Linked DNA regions of Homo sapiens: region 1 is linked to region 2. Evidence: promoter capture Hi-C in human tissues and cell types (Jung and others, 2019). All regions are on one chromosome and are shown on one strand. Each heading gives the region's core, a stretch centred on a gene start or on the middle of the fragment in contact. The rest is flanking DNA. Distances are from core to core; before and after follow the strand shown. Region 1 overlaps MIGA2 (mitoguardin 2). Region 2 holds the start of CERCAM (cerebral endothelial cell adhesion molecule).

Region 1 (6,451 bases), core at 2,099-4,598, 630 kb after region 2:
TTTGACACATAGAGTCATCCGACCACCACCATAGTTAGGAATCATTCAGCTGGTTGGAAGGTAGTGAGTTCACTCAGTCGATTGCTCACAGTCACAGATCACACTCCTTCTGTTCTCTCTTTTTTTTTTTTTTTTTTTTGAGATGGAGTCTTGCTCTGTCACCCAGTCTGCAGGGCAGTGGCACAATCTCGGTTCATTGCAGCCTCGGCCTCTTAGGTTCAAGAGATTCTCCTGCTTCAGCCTCTCGAAAAGCTGGGACTACAGGCACGTGCCACCATGCCTGGCTAATTTTTGTATTTTTAGTAGAGACGGGATTTCGCCACGTTGGCCAGGCTGCTCTCGAACTCCTGAGCTCAAGTGATCCGCCCACCTCAGCCTCCCAAAATCCTGGGATTACAGGTGTGAGCCACCGCACCCGGCCCCGGCCATCTTTCTACTCTTTTTTTTTTTTGAGACGGAGTCTCACTCTCTGTCACCCGGGCTGGAGTGCTGTGGCATGATCTTGGCTCACTGCAACCTCTGCATCCCGGGTTCAAGCGATTCTTCTGCCTCAGCCTCCGGAGTAGCTGGGACAACAGGTGCGTGCCACCAAGCCCGGCTAATTTTTTGTATTTTTAGTAGAGACAGGGTTTCACTGTATTAGCCAGGATGGCCTTGATCTCCTGAACTCGTGATCCGCCTGCCTCGGCCTCCCAAAGTGCTGGGATTACAGGCATGAGCCAACCTGCCCGGCTTTTTTTTTTTTGAGACAGAGTTTCGCTTGTGTTTCCCAGGCTGGAGTGCGGTGGTCTGGTCTCTGCTCACTGTAGCCTCTGCCTTCCGGTTTCAAGCAATTCTCCTGCCTGAGCCTCCCGAGTAGCTGGGATTACAGGTGCATGAAACCACGCCCGGCTAATTTTTGTATTTTGAGTAGAGTTGGGGTTTCACCATGTTAGCCAGGCTGGTCTCGAACTCCTGACCTCGTGATCCACCCGCCTTGGCCTCCCAAAGTGCTGGGAGCCAGGCATGAGCCACCGTGCCTGGCCCCTTCTTCTACTCTTTTTCCCAGCTTCTCACTACTACACTTAACTAGTCTTAAAAAAAAAAAAGAACTGTTCTATCGTTGTATCACTCTCTAAATGCCCTGTGTCCTTCTGTGTCAGCTCTGGTAGCCACTGCTCTATTTTGTGGCTGCTGCTGTGGTTGTAAAAACTCTTACGGCTCCTGTTAATCTTGTAATACAGACCCGGTGTTTGCTGCATTGAAGTGTTGTCTTGATCTCTTTGCAAGGCCAGGAGTTCTCATCTTGGGAGACTTGTTTTTTTTGAAACACAGTCTCACTCTGTCACCCAGGCTGGAGTGCAATGGCACAGTCTCGGCTCACTGCAACCTCCACCCCCTGGGTTTAAGCGATTCTCCTGCCTCAGCCTCCCGAGTAGCTGGAATTACAGGCATGAGCCACCACACCCAGCTAATTTCTGTATTTTTGGTAGGGATGGGGTTTCACCATGTTGGCCAGGCTGGTCTGTGTTGGCCAGGCTGGTCTGTGTTGGCCAGGCTGGTCTCAAACTCCTGGCCTCAAGAGATCTTCCCGCCTTGGCCCCCCAAAGTGCTGGGGTTATGGGTGTGAGCCGCCGTGCCCAGCTGAAACTTGTTTTAAGAAGCAAAAGTAAGGCCAGGCGCGGTGGCTCATGCTTATAATCCCAGCACTTTGGGAGGCTAAAGCAGGCGGATCCCGAGGTCAGGAGTTTGAGACCAGCCTGGCCAACACGGTGAAACCCTGTCTCTACTAAAAATACAAAAATTAGTCGGGTGTGGTGGCAGGCATCTATGGAGGTGGAGCTTGCAGTGAGCCGAGATTGTGCCACTGCACTCCAACCTGGGCGACAGAGCGAGACTCTATCTCAAAAAAAAAAAAAAAACGAAGCAAAAGTAGCCTGTGATTTCAGCACTTTGAGAGGCTGAGGTGGGCGGGTCACCTGAGGACAGCAGTTCCAGACCAGCCTGGCCAACATGGTGAAACCCCCTCTCTACTAAAAATACAAAAATTAGCCAAGCATGGGGGTGCATGCCTGTAATCCCAGCTATTTAGGAGGCTGAAGCAGAAGGATCGCTTGAACCCGGGAGGCAGAGGTTGCAGTGAGCCGAGATCACACCACTGCACTCCAGCCTGGGCTATGGAGTAAGACTCTGTCTCAAAAAAAAAAAAAAAAAAAAAAAAAAGCAAAAGTAGACCGGGTGTGGTGGCTCACACCTGTAATCCCAGCACTTTGGGAAGCCAAGTCGGGAGAATTATTGAGTCCAGGAGTTTGAGACCAGCCTGAGCAGCATAGAGAGACCCTGTCTCTATAAATAATTTTTTTTTAAAAAGAGAAAGAACATAAATTAGCTGAGTGTGGTGGCTCATACCTGTAATCCCAGCAATTTGGGAGGCAGGAGGATTGTTTGAGGCCAGGAATTCAAGACCAGCCTGGGCAACATAGAGAGTCGCTGTCTCTGTTAAAAAAATAAGAAGCAAAAGTCTCCTGTGAAAATAAATTTTAATTGTGTATTATTGTTGCAAAAGGAAAGTATTATCTTTAGAATTGGAAAAATAAGTGTTTTGTTTTTTTTTTTTTGGTTTTTTTTTAGACGGAGTCTTGCTCTGTCGCCAGGCTGGAGTGCAGTGGTGCCATCTTGGCTCACTGCAACCTCCGCCTCCCGGGTTCAAGCAATTCTCCTGCCTCAGCCTCCTGAGTAGCTGGGACTACAGGTGCGTGCCACCACGCCCAGCTAATTTTTTGTGTTTTTAGTAGAGACAGGGTTTCACCATATTGGCCAGGATGGTCTCCATCTCTTGACCTCCTGATTTGCCCGCCTCAGCCTCCCAAATTGCTGGGATTACAGGTGTGAGCCACTGCGCCCGGCCTAGAATTGGAACAAGAAGTCTTGAGACTAATATGGAAGAGGACCCTGAGAGACACTCAGGCAGCCTAATTTTGTGTCTGTCCTGGGAAACCTGGAGTCATCTGCACAGCGTTTAGCTTCTGTGCCCTGTCCCACTCTGCCTGCTCTCATTTCACCTTATTTTCCCTTCCCTACTTTTCTCACTTCTAACAAAATATTGGCCATGTATAGTGGCTTGTACCTGTAATCCCAGTACTTTGGGGCAGGTGGATCACTTGAGCCCAGGAGTTTGAGACCAGCCTGGGTGGTATGTGGAGGCCCTGTCTCTGTTTTTTTTTTTTTTTGGAGACAGAGTCTTGCCCTGTCGCCTAGGGCAGAGGGCAGTGGCACAATCTTGGCTCACTGCAACCTCCGCCTTCCAGATTCAAGCAGTTCTCATGCTTCAGCCTCCCGAGTAGCTGGGAGTGCTACCATGCCTGGCTAATTTTATGTTTTTACTAGAGACAGGGTTTCACCATTTTGACCAGGCTGGTCTCAAACTCCTGACATCAGGTGATCTGCCCACTTCGTTCTCCCAAAAGTTGGGATTACAGGTGCGTGCCACCACACCCGGCTTTCTTTGTTTTATTTTATTATTATTTTTTAATTTTTATTTACTTTTTTTTTTTGAGACAGTCTCACTCTGTTGCCCAGGTTGGAATGCAGTGGCACAATTTCAGCTCATTGCAACGTCCACCTCCCAGGATCAAGCGATTCTCCTGCCTCATCCTACCAAGTAGCTGGGATTACAGGCGTGTGCCACCACACCTGGCTAATTTTTGTATTTTTAGTAGTGACGGGGTTTCTCCATGTTGGCCAGGCTGGTCTTGAACCCCTGACCTCAGGTGATCCACCCACCTCGGCCTCCCAAAGTACTAGGATTACAGGCATGAGCCACTGTGCCCAGGCTATTTTGTTTTGTATTTTTGAGACAGAGTCTCACCCTGTCGCCCAGGCTGGAGTGGAATGGCGCAATCTTGGCTCACTGCAACCTCTGCCTCCCGGGTTCAAGGATTCTCCTCCTCAGCCTACCAAGTAGCTGGGATTACAAACAGGTGCCACCATACCTGGCTAATTTTTTGTGTTTTTAGTAGAGACAGGCTTTCACCACGTGGGCCAGGCTTCTCTCGAACTCCTAATCTCATGTGATCTGCTGACCTCAGCCTCCCAAAGTGCTGGGATTACAGGTGTGAGCCACTGTGCCCGGCCCTGTCTCTATTTTAAAAAATAACCTTTGGTGCATTTCATTAAATTTTTTTTTTTGAGACATTCTTGCTCTGTTGCCCAGGCTGGAGTGCAGTGGCACAGTCTTGGCTCACTGCAACCTCCGTGTCCCAGGTTCAAGCGATTCTCCTGCCTCAGCCTCCTGAGTAGCTGGGATTACAGGCGTGCGCCACCCCATCTGGCTAATTTGTGTATTTTTATTATAGATGGGGTTTTACCTTGTTGGCCAGGCTGATCTCGAACTCCTGACCTCAAGTGATCCACCCACCTCGGCCTCCCAAAGTGCTAGGATTACAGACATGATCCACCCAGCCCATCCTAAAAAAATTTATATATATATATGTATATATATTTGAGACAGGGTCTCACTCTGCTTCCCAGTCTGGAATGAAGTATTGCGATCATGGCTTACTGCAGCCTTGACCTCCCAGGCTCAATTGATCCCCCACCCTCAGCCTCCCAAGTAGCTGGGGCTGCAGGCCACGCCACCACACTTGGCTAATTTTTGTATTTTTTGTTGAGACAGGGTTTCGCCATGTTGCCCAGGCTGGTCTTGAACTCCTGGGCTCAAGCAGTCCTCCCCCATCTCGGCCTCCCAAAGTGCTGGGATTATAGGTGTGAGCCACCGTGCCCGGCCTTTTGTATATTTTTAAAAGTTGTCGTCTCACATCTCTTTTGCAAGGAGAATTCTAAACCATTCTCTCAATCAGCAGCCCAGAGAAGGCTAAGCAAGGAGGCGGGAAAGCAGATGGACCTCATTCTTGGCTTATCTGGCAGATCGGGACTCCTCTCCTCGGCCTGGCCCTGTGCCCTGTGGCAGGGATATGGCAGGGATGTGGTCATGAGCAGGACATGGAGGGCCCCGCGCTTTTCTCCTGAGTGCACGCCCTTGGGGCCCCTCTGTTCCCCTGACTTAGAAGGTCGGGACCGATTCCCAGATGAGGAAGAAGGGGAAGGTGGTCCAGAGTGGGGGCAGCCCGTGTAAAGGCCACAGGGGATGCCTGTGTGACGCCTGCCCTTCTGCTCCTCACAGGATACTCCAGCCGGAGAGTCCAGAGCCCCAGCAGCAAGAGCAACGACACCCTGAGTGGCATCTCTTCCATTGAGCCCAGCAAGCACTCGGGCTCCTCCCACAGTGTGGCCTCGGTGAGCAGCAGGTGCCAGGGCTCCAGGGCTCCAGGTCCGGGCTTACCCCTGCTGAGGACTCTGCCCTCAGCAAGCTTATAGACTGGTAGAGTCCATTCATTCATTCTCTCTCTCACTCCTCCACCCACGCGGGCTTTCAGGGATTGTCCCTAATCACTCACTGTGCCAGGTGTTGGTGGGAGAAAGGTGGGCTGGTGCAGAGGAGAGAAACTGATGGTCTCCTGGGGAGACCTGTACCTGTGAAAGTGCAGGTTATTCATTCATCAGCCACTGACAAGCACCTGCGTTATACCAGGGACTCTGTCAGGCACTGGAGGTGTAGAGATAAACAAGGCAGAAGCTTGGCTTCTTCTGGGGTGTGGCTTTTGGTTCATTCACTCATCCAGCAAGCAGAGTCCCAGCTATGAGCCAGGCTGGCACAGGGGCAAGCAAGAGCTGGTTCTTGTCCTGGGGCTGCCAGCCACTCGTGTGGATGAGAGGCAGGACCCTGGCACAGAATGGGTACTCTCTGTCTTCTTGTTCAAGGGGTAGAGGAGCCCCGGCATAGGGGATGGATACAGCAGTCAGGAGCAGGGCTCAGAGGGATTCCCAGGTTCCTGGGCTGGGTGTTGGTCTCAGGATTCCTTCCTGCTTTGGTGGCTTCTTTCTATGAAGCACCATCAGGCAGTTTGTGGGTCCAGGCCATTCTGAGGGTGTGGACGCTGTGGCTAGGAACAAGCTCAGGGATGGCATTTGGAGGGGGCGTGTGGCCCATGGTCAGGCAGTGGAGGAGGGCTCAGGGGGGCCCTGCAGAGAGCCCGGGAAAGCTTCACTCTTTCTTCTTGCACTGATTGGCGCCCAGATGATGGCAGTGAACTCATCCAGCCCCACAGCCGCGTGCTCGGGACTATGGGATGCCAGAGGGATGGAGGAGTCTCTGACCACCAGCGACGGCAATGCAGAGAGCCTGTACATGCAAGGTGTGGCCAGGAGGTGCCTCAGCTTCGAGGGCAGGGTGGGTGGCAGGAACAGTCCCTTCCTAGGAGCTTGGCCAGTCTTGGGTCACTTTGCCCCTCACTACCCTGCCCCAAATCCCAACTGGGTGATTTCCAGCCATTTCTGAACAAGGGACAGTGTCTAGGAACAAACCTGGTCTGAAAGAAGGCCTGGAACCTGAGCAGCCCAGGCCACACGGTCC
Region 2 (6,479 bases), core at 56-2,555:
AACCCTCCCAGATGGGTGGCGTTATCAGCCCGATTTTACCCGAGAGGCTCCTGAGGGAAAGGGACCTGTCTGAGGTTGGTGACAGACACCCAGTTCGATCCCATCTGTGGTGCCGCCAGGCCGCTCCCTTTTCTGCTCCTCTCCCGAGAGGCTGCAGAGTTCTTTCCCTCCCAGCAGGGTCCTAAGGACCCCGGCGGTGCTCCAGGGGAGCCAACATCCCCTGCTTTGGAGGACGGACGGGTCGGGTCGCAGTGAGCAGCTCCGTGGTGTCCCCTAGTTCTACACTCAGACCAAGAGAGGGCTGTGAGGGCTGTGCTCTTTTTTTTTTTTTCTTTTTGAGACGGAGTCTCGGTCTGTCATCCAGGCTGTAGTGCAGTGGCGCGATCTCGGCTCACTGCAACCTCCGCCTCCCGGGTTCAAGCGATTCTCCTGCCTCAGCCTCCCAAGTAGCTGGGAGTACAGGCACCCGCCACGACGCCCGGCTAATTTTTGTATTTTTAGTACAGATGGGATTTCACCATCTTGGCCAGGCTGGTCTTGAACTGATCTCAGGTGATCCTCCCGCCTCGGTCTCCCAAAGTGCCGGGATTACAGGCGTGAGCTACCACGCCCGGCCTGGCTGTGCTCTCTTAAAGGGCCGAAGCAATGCGGGTGCTGGCGACCGACGCAAGGAGGTGACGCACAGGGGACTTAAGGAGCGGACCGCCGCGGGAGGACGCGCCCAGCTCAGGGGGACTCCCTCTGCGCCCCCCACGCTGGGTCTCCGGCCCACGCGTGGCCCGGCTGGTCTGCGGAGCTAGCGCCAGGGCCGCCAGAGGGCGCCCGGGGCGGAGGATGGGGCGGGAGCCGGGGAAGCCCGGGAGGTGGTGGCCGAGTGGGCGCCGCCCCTCTGGGTCTGCGGCTCAGGTCGAAGAGTCGGCTGCGTGGGCCGGGGAATCCGGATTCCGGGGGTTCAACGCCCAGGGGTTCCATGAGCCCCTACTGTTCTCGGACGCCCGGCCGGCCCCGACGCACTCGTCCTAGCACCCCTCCCCTGTCCGGTCCTCCGGCCCCTCCGCCGTCGCCCCTCCGGGGTCCAGCCGGGCGGGGCTGCTCCAGGGTCGCGGCTGGCGCGGGTCCCCGGGCCCTGGCCCTCCGGTGCCCCGGGCCAAGGAGAGAAAACTTGAGCATCCACGCACAGGGGTGGGGAGCAGGATCCCACTCTGAGGGTGCACTGCCCCGCCCTCTCCGGGTCTGCCTCGGCCCCGCCCGGGCCCCAGGCCCCGCCCCCTCCCCTCGGCCGGCCCGAGAGCTCCGGGGGCCGCTGCAGCCGCCCAAGCGCCCGCCATGCGCGCTGCCCGCGCCGCGCCGCTGCTCCAGCTGCTGCTCCTGCTGGGGCCGTGGCTGGAGGCTGCGGGCGTTGCGGAGTCGCCGCTGCCCGCCGTGGTCCTTGCCATCCTGGCCCGCAATGCCGAACACTCGCTGCCCCACTACCTGGGCGCTCTGGAGCGGCTGGACTACCCCCGGGCCAGGATGGCCCTCTGGTGAGAGACCCGGGCATTGGCACCGAGTGGGCACCTAACCCCCAGCTTCGCAGATGGCCCCCGCCCCCGGCGGCCCTGTCTGCTCGCTCCCTGCCCAGACACCACCTAGACAGGCCCCTCCCCTCACAGACGGCCCTGCCAGCCCGAGCCGCCAGAGAGGACCCCGAGCCCCCTGCTGGGAGACGACAGACCTCTGAGGCCACAGGCCGACGCGGGACACCCACCCCTCCTTCTGGTCCCCTACTCCTTCCTCTTGGGGCCTTCCCTGGGTGTAGGTTGGGCCCAGCCAGCCCTTTTCACCCCAGCCTTCAGGGCCCAGCTCAACCCCAGTGGGACCTGTGGTTGGCTGGATTTGAAGAGGAGCAGACAGGAACCTCTGAAGTCCACTGGGGCCCAACGTGGCAGGGATCGACCACGCTGGAGGCTTCCGGGCACAGGTTGGGGGTGCCATCAGCACTGGGCTCCGGGCTGTGCAGGGGAGTCAGACCGGCCCCCCCACCGCCCCCGTGCTGGGGCCAGCTCTCTTGGTAGATCTTGGTAGAGGGGCGGGATCCTGTCAGCCAAGGGCAGTCCCCCTTCCTGGAGCCTCTCCCCTCTGGCATCTCTGTACCCCCAGGGCACTGGGATCGAAGGCCACAACCCCTGGTCTGTAGACACCAGAACAGGGAGGAGTCCCTGGCTGAGGTTGGGGGTAAACTGAGAAAAATGACAAGCCACCCTCTTCAACACACCACAGTTGGGCTGGGGGGGTGGAGCCCTGGCCTGGGGAGGCCGCCCACAATTACCACAGTTTGGGAGTTTGTTAGTTCCCACCCCTGTAAGACTTGACACGTAGTCTTCATTTCTGGGGAATTGGCTTAAAGGGGCAGCATCACCCAAAACCTGGGCACTTGGCTAAACCCCCACCTCTGTTATGGGGGCCCCTTCCCCAGGAGAGGGGAGGCTGTGCCCCATGACAGCAGAGCTTGGACCCATCTGCATTCTTAGGGACGCTTAGAGCATGGTTTGGTCCTTATTACAACCTGGGGGTGGAGGAAAGCAGCAGCTCTTCTGTCTAGTCCCCATTCAGAGAGGGACAGGGGCTGGCCTGTGGTCACACAGCCACAGGTCACATAGGTAGGTATCTGCCCACCTAACGAAGGTAACCAGGGAATGCACCAGGTGTGATCCTTAAAGTCGAGGTACTTTTCATCTTTCAAAATGCATTCGTTGGCCAGGTGTGGTGGCTCACGCCTGTAATTTCAGCACTTTGGGAGGCCGAAGTGGGCAGATCACCTGAGGTGAGGAGTTCAAGACCAGCCTGGCTAACATGGTGAAACCCCATCTCTACTAAACAAACAAAAATTAGCCGGGCATGGTGGTGCACACCTGTAATCCCAGGTACTCAGGAGGCTGAGGCAGGAGAATCACTTGAACCCGGGAGGCGGAGGTTGCAGTGAGTCGAGATCATACCACTGCACTACAGCCTGGGCGACAGAGCAAGATTCCATCTCAAAAAAAATGCATTATTCTTCTCTTATCTTTGTCCATGACATAAGCAGGACAGCTTAAGTTATAGAGGGAGGACGTGAAGCCCAGAGAAAGATGGGACTTGCCTGAGGTCACACAGCAGGTCACAGAACTGTGGTGGGGACCTGGCTGTGCTGCCTCCAGCCTCTCTGCTGTAGCACACCTACCCTTCACTGTTCCAAGGAGAGCTCGACCTCAAAGGTGTTAGTGCTTTGGGGTCAAGGCTGCCTTGGGGTTCAATCCTGTGGCTGTGCCCCCTCAGCCTTTTTTCTTCCCGTCCCCAGGTGTGCCACGGACCACAATGTGGACAACACCACAGAGATGCTGCAGGAGTGGCTGGCGGCTGTGGGCGATGACTATGCTGCTGTGGTCTGGAGGCCTGAGGGCGAGCCCAGGTGGTGATCTGAGGGGAAGGGTGCTGGGGAAGATGGAGAACAGCTGCAGCCCAGAGAGGAAAAGGGACAGCCCAGAGCCACAGCCTCCAAGCCAGGGCTCTGTCCACTGCCCTGCAGAGAGGGAGGGGCATGTACCCCATGGGAACATCTCACCTCTATCCCCTCAGGTTCTACCCAGATGAAGAGGGTCCCAAGCACTGGACCAAAGAAAGGCACCAGTTTCTGATGGAGCTGAAGCAGGAAGCCCTCACCTTTGCCAGGAACTGGGGGGCCGACTATATCCTGGTGAGGAAGTCTGGCTAGAATCGGGCTTCTGAAAGGCGGTAGTATCCGTCCCTGATAGAAATCTGGGTATAGGCTGGGTGCAGTGGCTCACGCCTATAATCCTAGCACTTTGGGAGGCCAAGGCAGGTGGATCACCTGAGGTCAGAAGTTCGAGACCAGCCTGGCCAACATGGTGATACCCCATCTCTACTAAAAATACAATAATTAGCTGGGCGTGGTCGCAGGCGCCTGTAATTCCAGCTGCTTGGGAGGCTGAGGCATGAGAATGGCATGAACCTGGGAGGTAGAGGTTGCACTGAGCTGAAATCATGCCACTGCATTCCAGCCTGGGTGACAAGAGTGAAACTCAGTCTCAAAAAAAAAAAAAAAAGAAAAAGAAATCTGAATGTGACTGACCCACCCGAAGGCTGGATCCTTCGGCAGGCTATCTGGGCCAGAGCCCAGACCAGATGTTCAGATTGGATCCCTATGTTAAAAGCTCAGACTAGGTACTAAGCCTGGACCCCTCAGATAGATCCCGTTGTATACACTTTACTGAGCCTCGATTTCTGGGCTAGAGCCCAGGGTATAAATTGAGCCTGGATCTCTGAACTAGAGCTCAGAGTAGGTGTTTGGATCCATTTTCTAAGCCAGATCCCAGATAAAGGTCTTAGATCAGTAACTCAGGTATAATCTCTGGACCCAGTCCCTGAGTCAGTGCCCCAGACTAGAGCCTTGGTCCAGAAACAGATGTACTGAGTTTGTGAGACCTCTGTAAGAGCATTCCCACTGGATCCTAGGAGCCACGCTGGGTCTCTGGCAGGACCACTCAGTGAACTCCTTGGGGGGCTGCAGCCCAGGCAGGGCTGGAGCCTGTGACGTCCCCTCCTCAAAGTTTGCAGACACAGACAACATTCTGACCAACAATCAGACTCTGCGGCTTCTCATGGGGCAGGGGCTTCCAGTGGTGGCCCCAATGCTGGACTCCCAGACCTACTACTCCAACTTCTGGTGTGGGATCACCCCCCAGGTGAGGCCGGGATGGGGGCCTTGGGTGGACTGAGGTCCTGGAAGGAGGGACGTGGAGAGCAGAGAGCCTGAGGCCTTGGGGTCTGTGGGCAGGGGCAGGGGAGCCCTCTCACAGCCCAAAGCATCCCTTTTCCCCAGGGCTACTACCGCCGCACAGCCGAGTACTTCCCCACCAAGAACCGCCAGCGCCGGGGCTGCTTCCGTGTCCCCATGGTCCACTCCACCTTCCTTGCATCCCTGCGGGCTGAAGGGGCAGACCAGCTTGCTTTCTACCCGCCACATCCCAACTACACTTGGCCTTTCGACGACATCATCGTCTTCGCCTATGCCTGCCAGGCTGCTGGTGAGGACCAGCCCTCCTTTAGCATTCCTTGGAGGCCTCTGCACATTTGCACATGCTATTCCAGCTGCTTACCATGCCCTTCCCTACTCTGCATTTCATCCTGTTAACCCATGAGTTACAACTTTGGGTCATGAGTTTTCTTTTCTCTCTCTTTTTTTTTTTTTTTGGTGTGATCTCGGCTCACTGCAAACTCTGCCTCCCGGGTTCAAATGATTTCCTGCCTCAGCTTCCCGAGTAGCTGGGATTACAGGCACCCGCCACCACACCCAGCTAATTTTTGTATTTTTAGTAGAGACGGGGTTTTGCCATGTTGGTCAGGCTGGTCTCAAAACTCCTGAGCTCAGGTGATCCACCCGCCTCGGCCTCCCAAAGTACTGGCATTACAGGTGTGAGCCACCCGCCCAGCCAGTGGTTACTTTTAAGATGAAAGGTTTTTTGTTGTTGTTGTTGTTGTTGTTTTTGGGACAGAGTCTCACTCTGTCGCCCAGGCTGGAGTGCAGTGGCCGATCTTGGCTCACTGCAAGCTCCGCCTCCCGGGTTCAAGCCATTCTCCTGCCTCAGCCTCCCGAGTAGCTGGGACTACAGGCGCCCACCACCACGCCCGGCTAATTTTTGTATTTGTAGTAGAGATGGGGTTTCACCGTGTTAACCAGGATGGTCTCGATCTCCTGACCTCGTGATCTGCCCGCCTCGGCCTCCCAAAGTGCTGGGATTACAGGCGTGAGCCACCGCGCCCAGCCAAGATGAAAGTTACTAGAAAGAGTTTGGGTATGGCCAGGCAAGGTGACTCAGACCCTAATCTCAAAGTCTTGGGAAGCTGAGGCTGGAGGGGAAATCACTTGAGCTCAGGAGTTCGAGACCAGCCTGGACAACATAGCAAGACCTCATCTCTTTTCTGCCCTTTTTTTTTTTTTGAGATGGAGTTTTGCTCTTGTTGCCCAGGCTGGAGTGCAATGGCGTGATCTTGGCTCACTGCAACCTCTGCCTTCCGGGTTCAAGCAGTTCTCCTGCCTCAGCCTCCCGAGTAGCTGGGATTACAGGCATGCACTGCCACGCCTGGGTAATTTTGTGTTTTTAGTAGAGACGGGGTTTCTCCGTGTTGGTCAGCCTCGTCTCGAACTCCTGACCTCAGGTGATCTGCCCGCCTCAGCCTCCCAAAGTGCTGAGATTACAGGCATGGGCCACTGAGCCCAGCCCAGCCTTTTTTTTTTTTTTTTTTTTTTGAGACGGAGTCTTGCTCTGTGGCTCCCAGGCTAGAGTGCAGTGGCACAATCTCAGCTCACTACAGTGTTGACCTCCCCCACCTCAGCCTCCCACGTAGCTGGGACCACAGGTGCACACCACCATGCCCAGCTAATTTTTGTATTTTTTGTAGAGATGGGGTTTTGCCGTGTTGCCCAGGCTGGTCTTGAACTC

Evidence for each region. The method cuts DNA at HindIII sites, captures the fragments that hold promoters and counts their contacts. A contact is called where the count stands out against the background at its distance.
Region 1: a contact is called between a fragment that was not itself captured here and the fragment with the promoter of CERCAM in region 2, in 1 of the 25 tissues and cell types used here (lymphoblastoid cells).

The regions. Positions count from the first base shown.
Region 1 is chr9:129,043,266-129,049,716 of GRCh38, forward strand. MIGA2 (mitoguardin 2) reads left to right here. Exons shown (of 16, transcript NM_001329990.2): 4 at 5,162-5,274; 5 at 6,116-6,233. Among named protein-coding and RNA genes, the nearest start is that of MIGA2, 9.9 kb to the left of the region's middle. The HindIII fragment of the contact is 4,265 bases long and covers 1,217-5,481 here.
Region 2 is chr9:128,419,552-128,426,030 of GRCh38, forward strand. CERCAM (cerebral endothelial cell adhesion molecule) reads left to right here and starts at 1,306. Exons shown (of 13, transcript NM_016174.5): 1 at 1,306-1,523; 2 at 3,317-3,427; 3 at 3,595-3,712; 4 at 4,587-4,721; 5 at 4,859-5,063. The coding sequence starts at 1,327. RefSeq lists a silencer at 692-1,591 and an enhancer at 1,852-2,041. The HindIII fragment of the contact is 34,497 bases long and covers 1-6,479 here.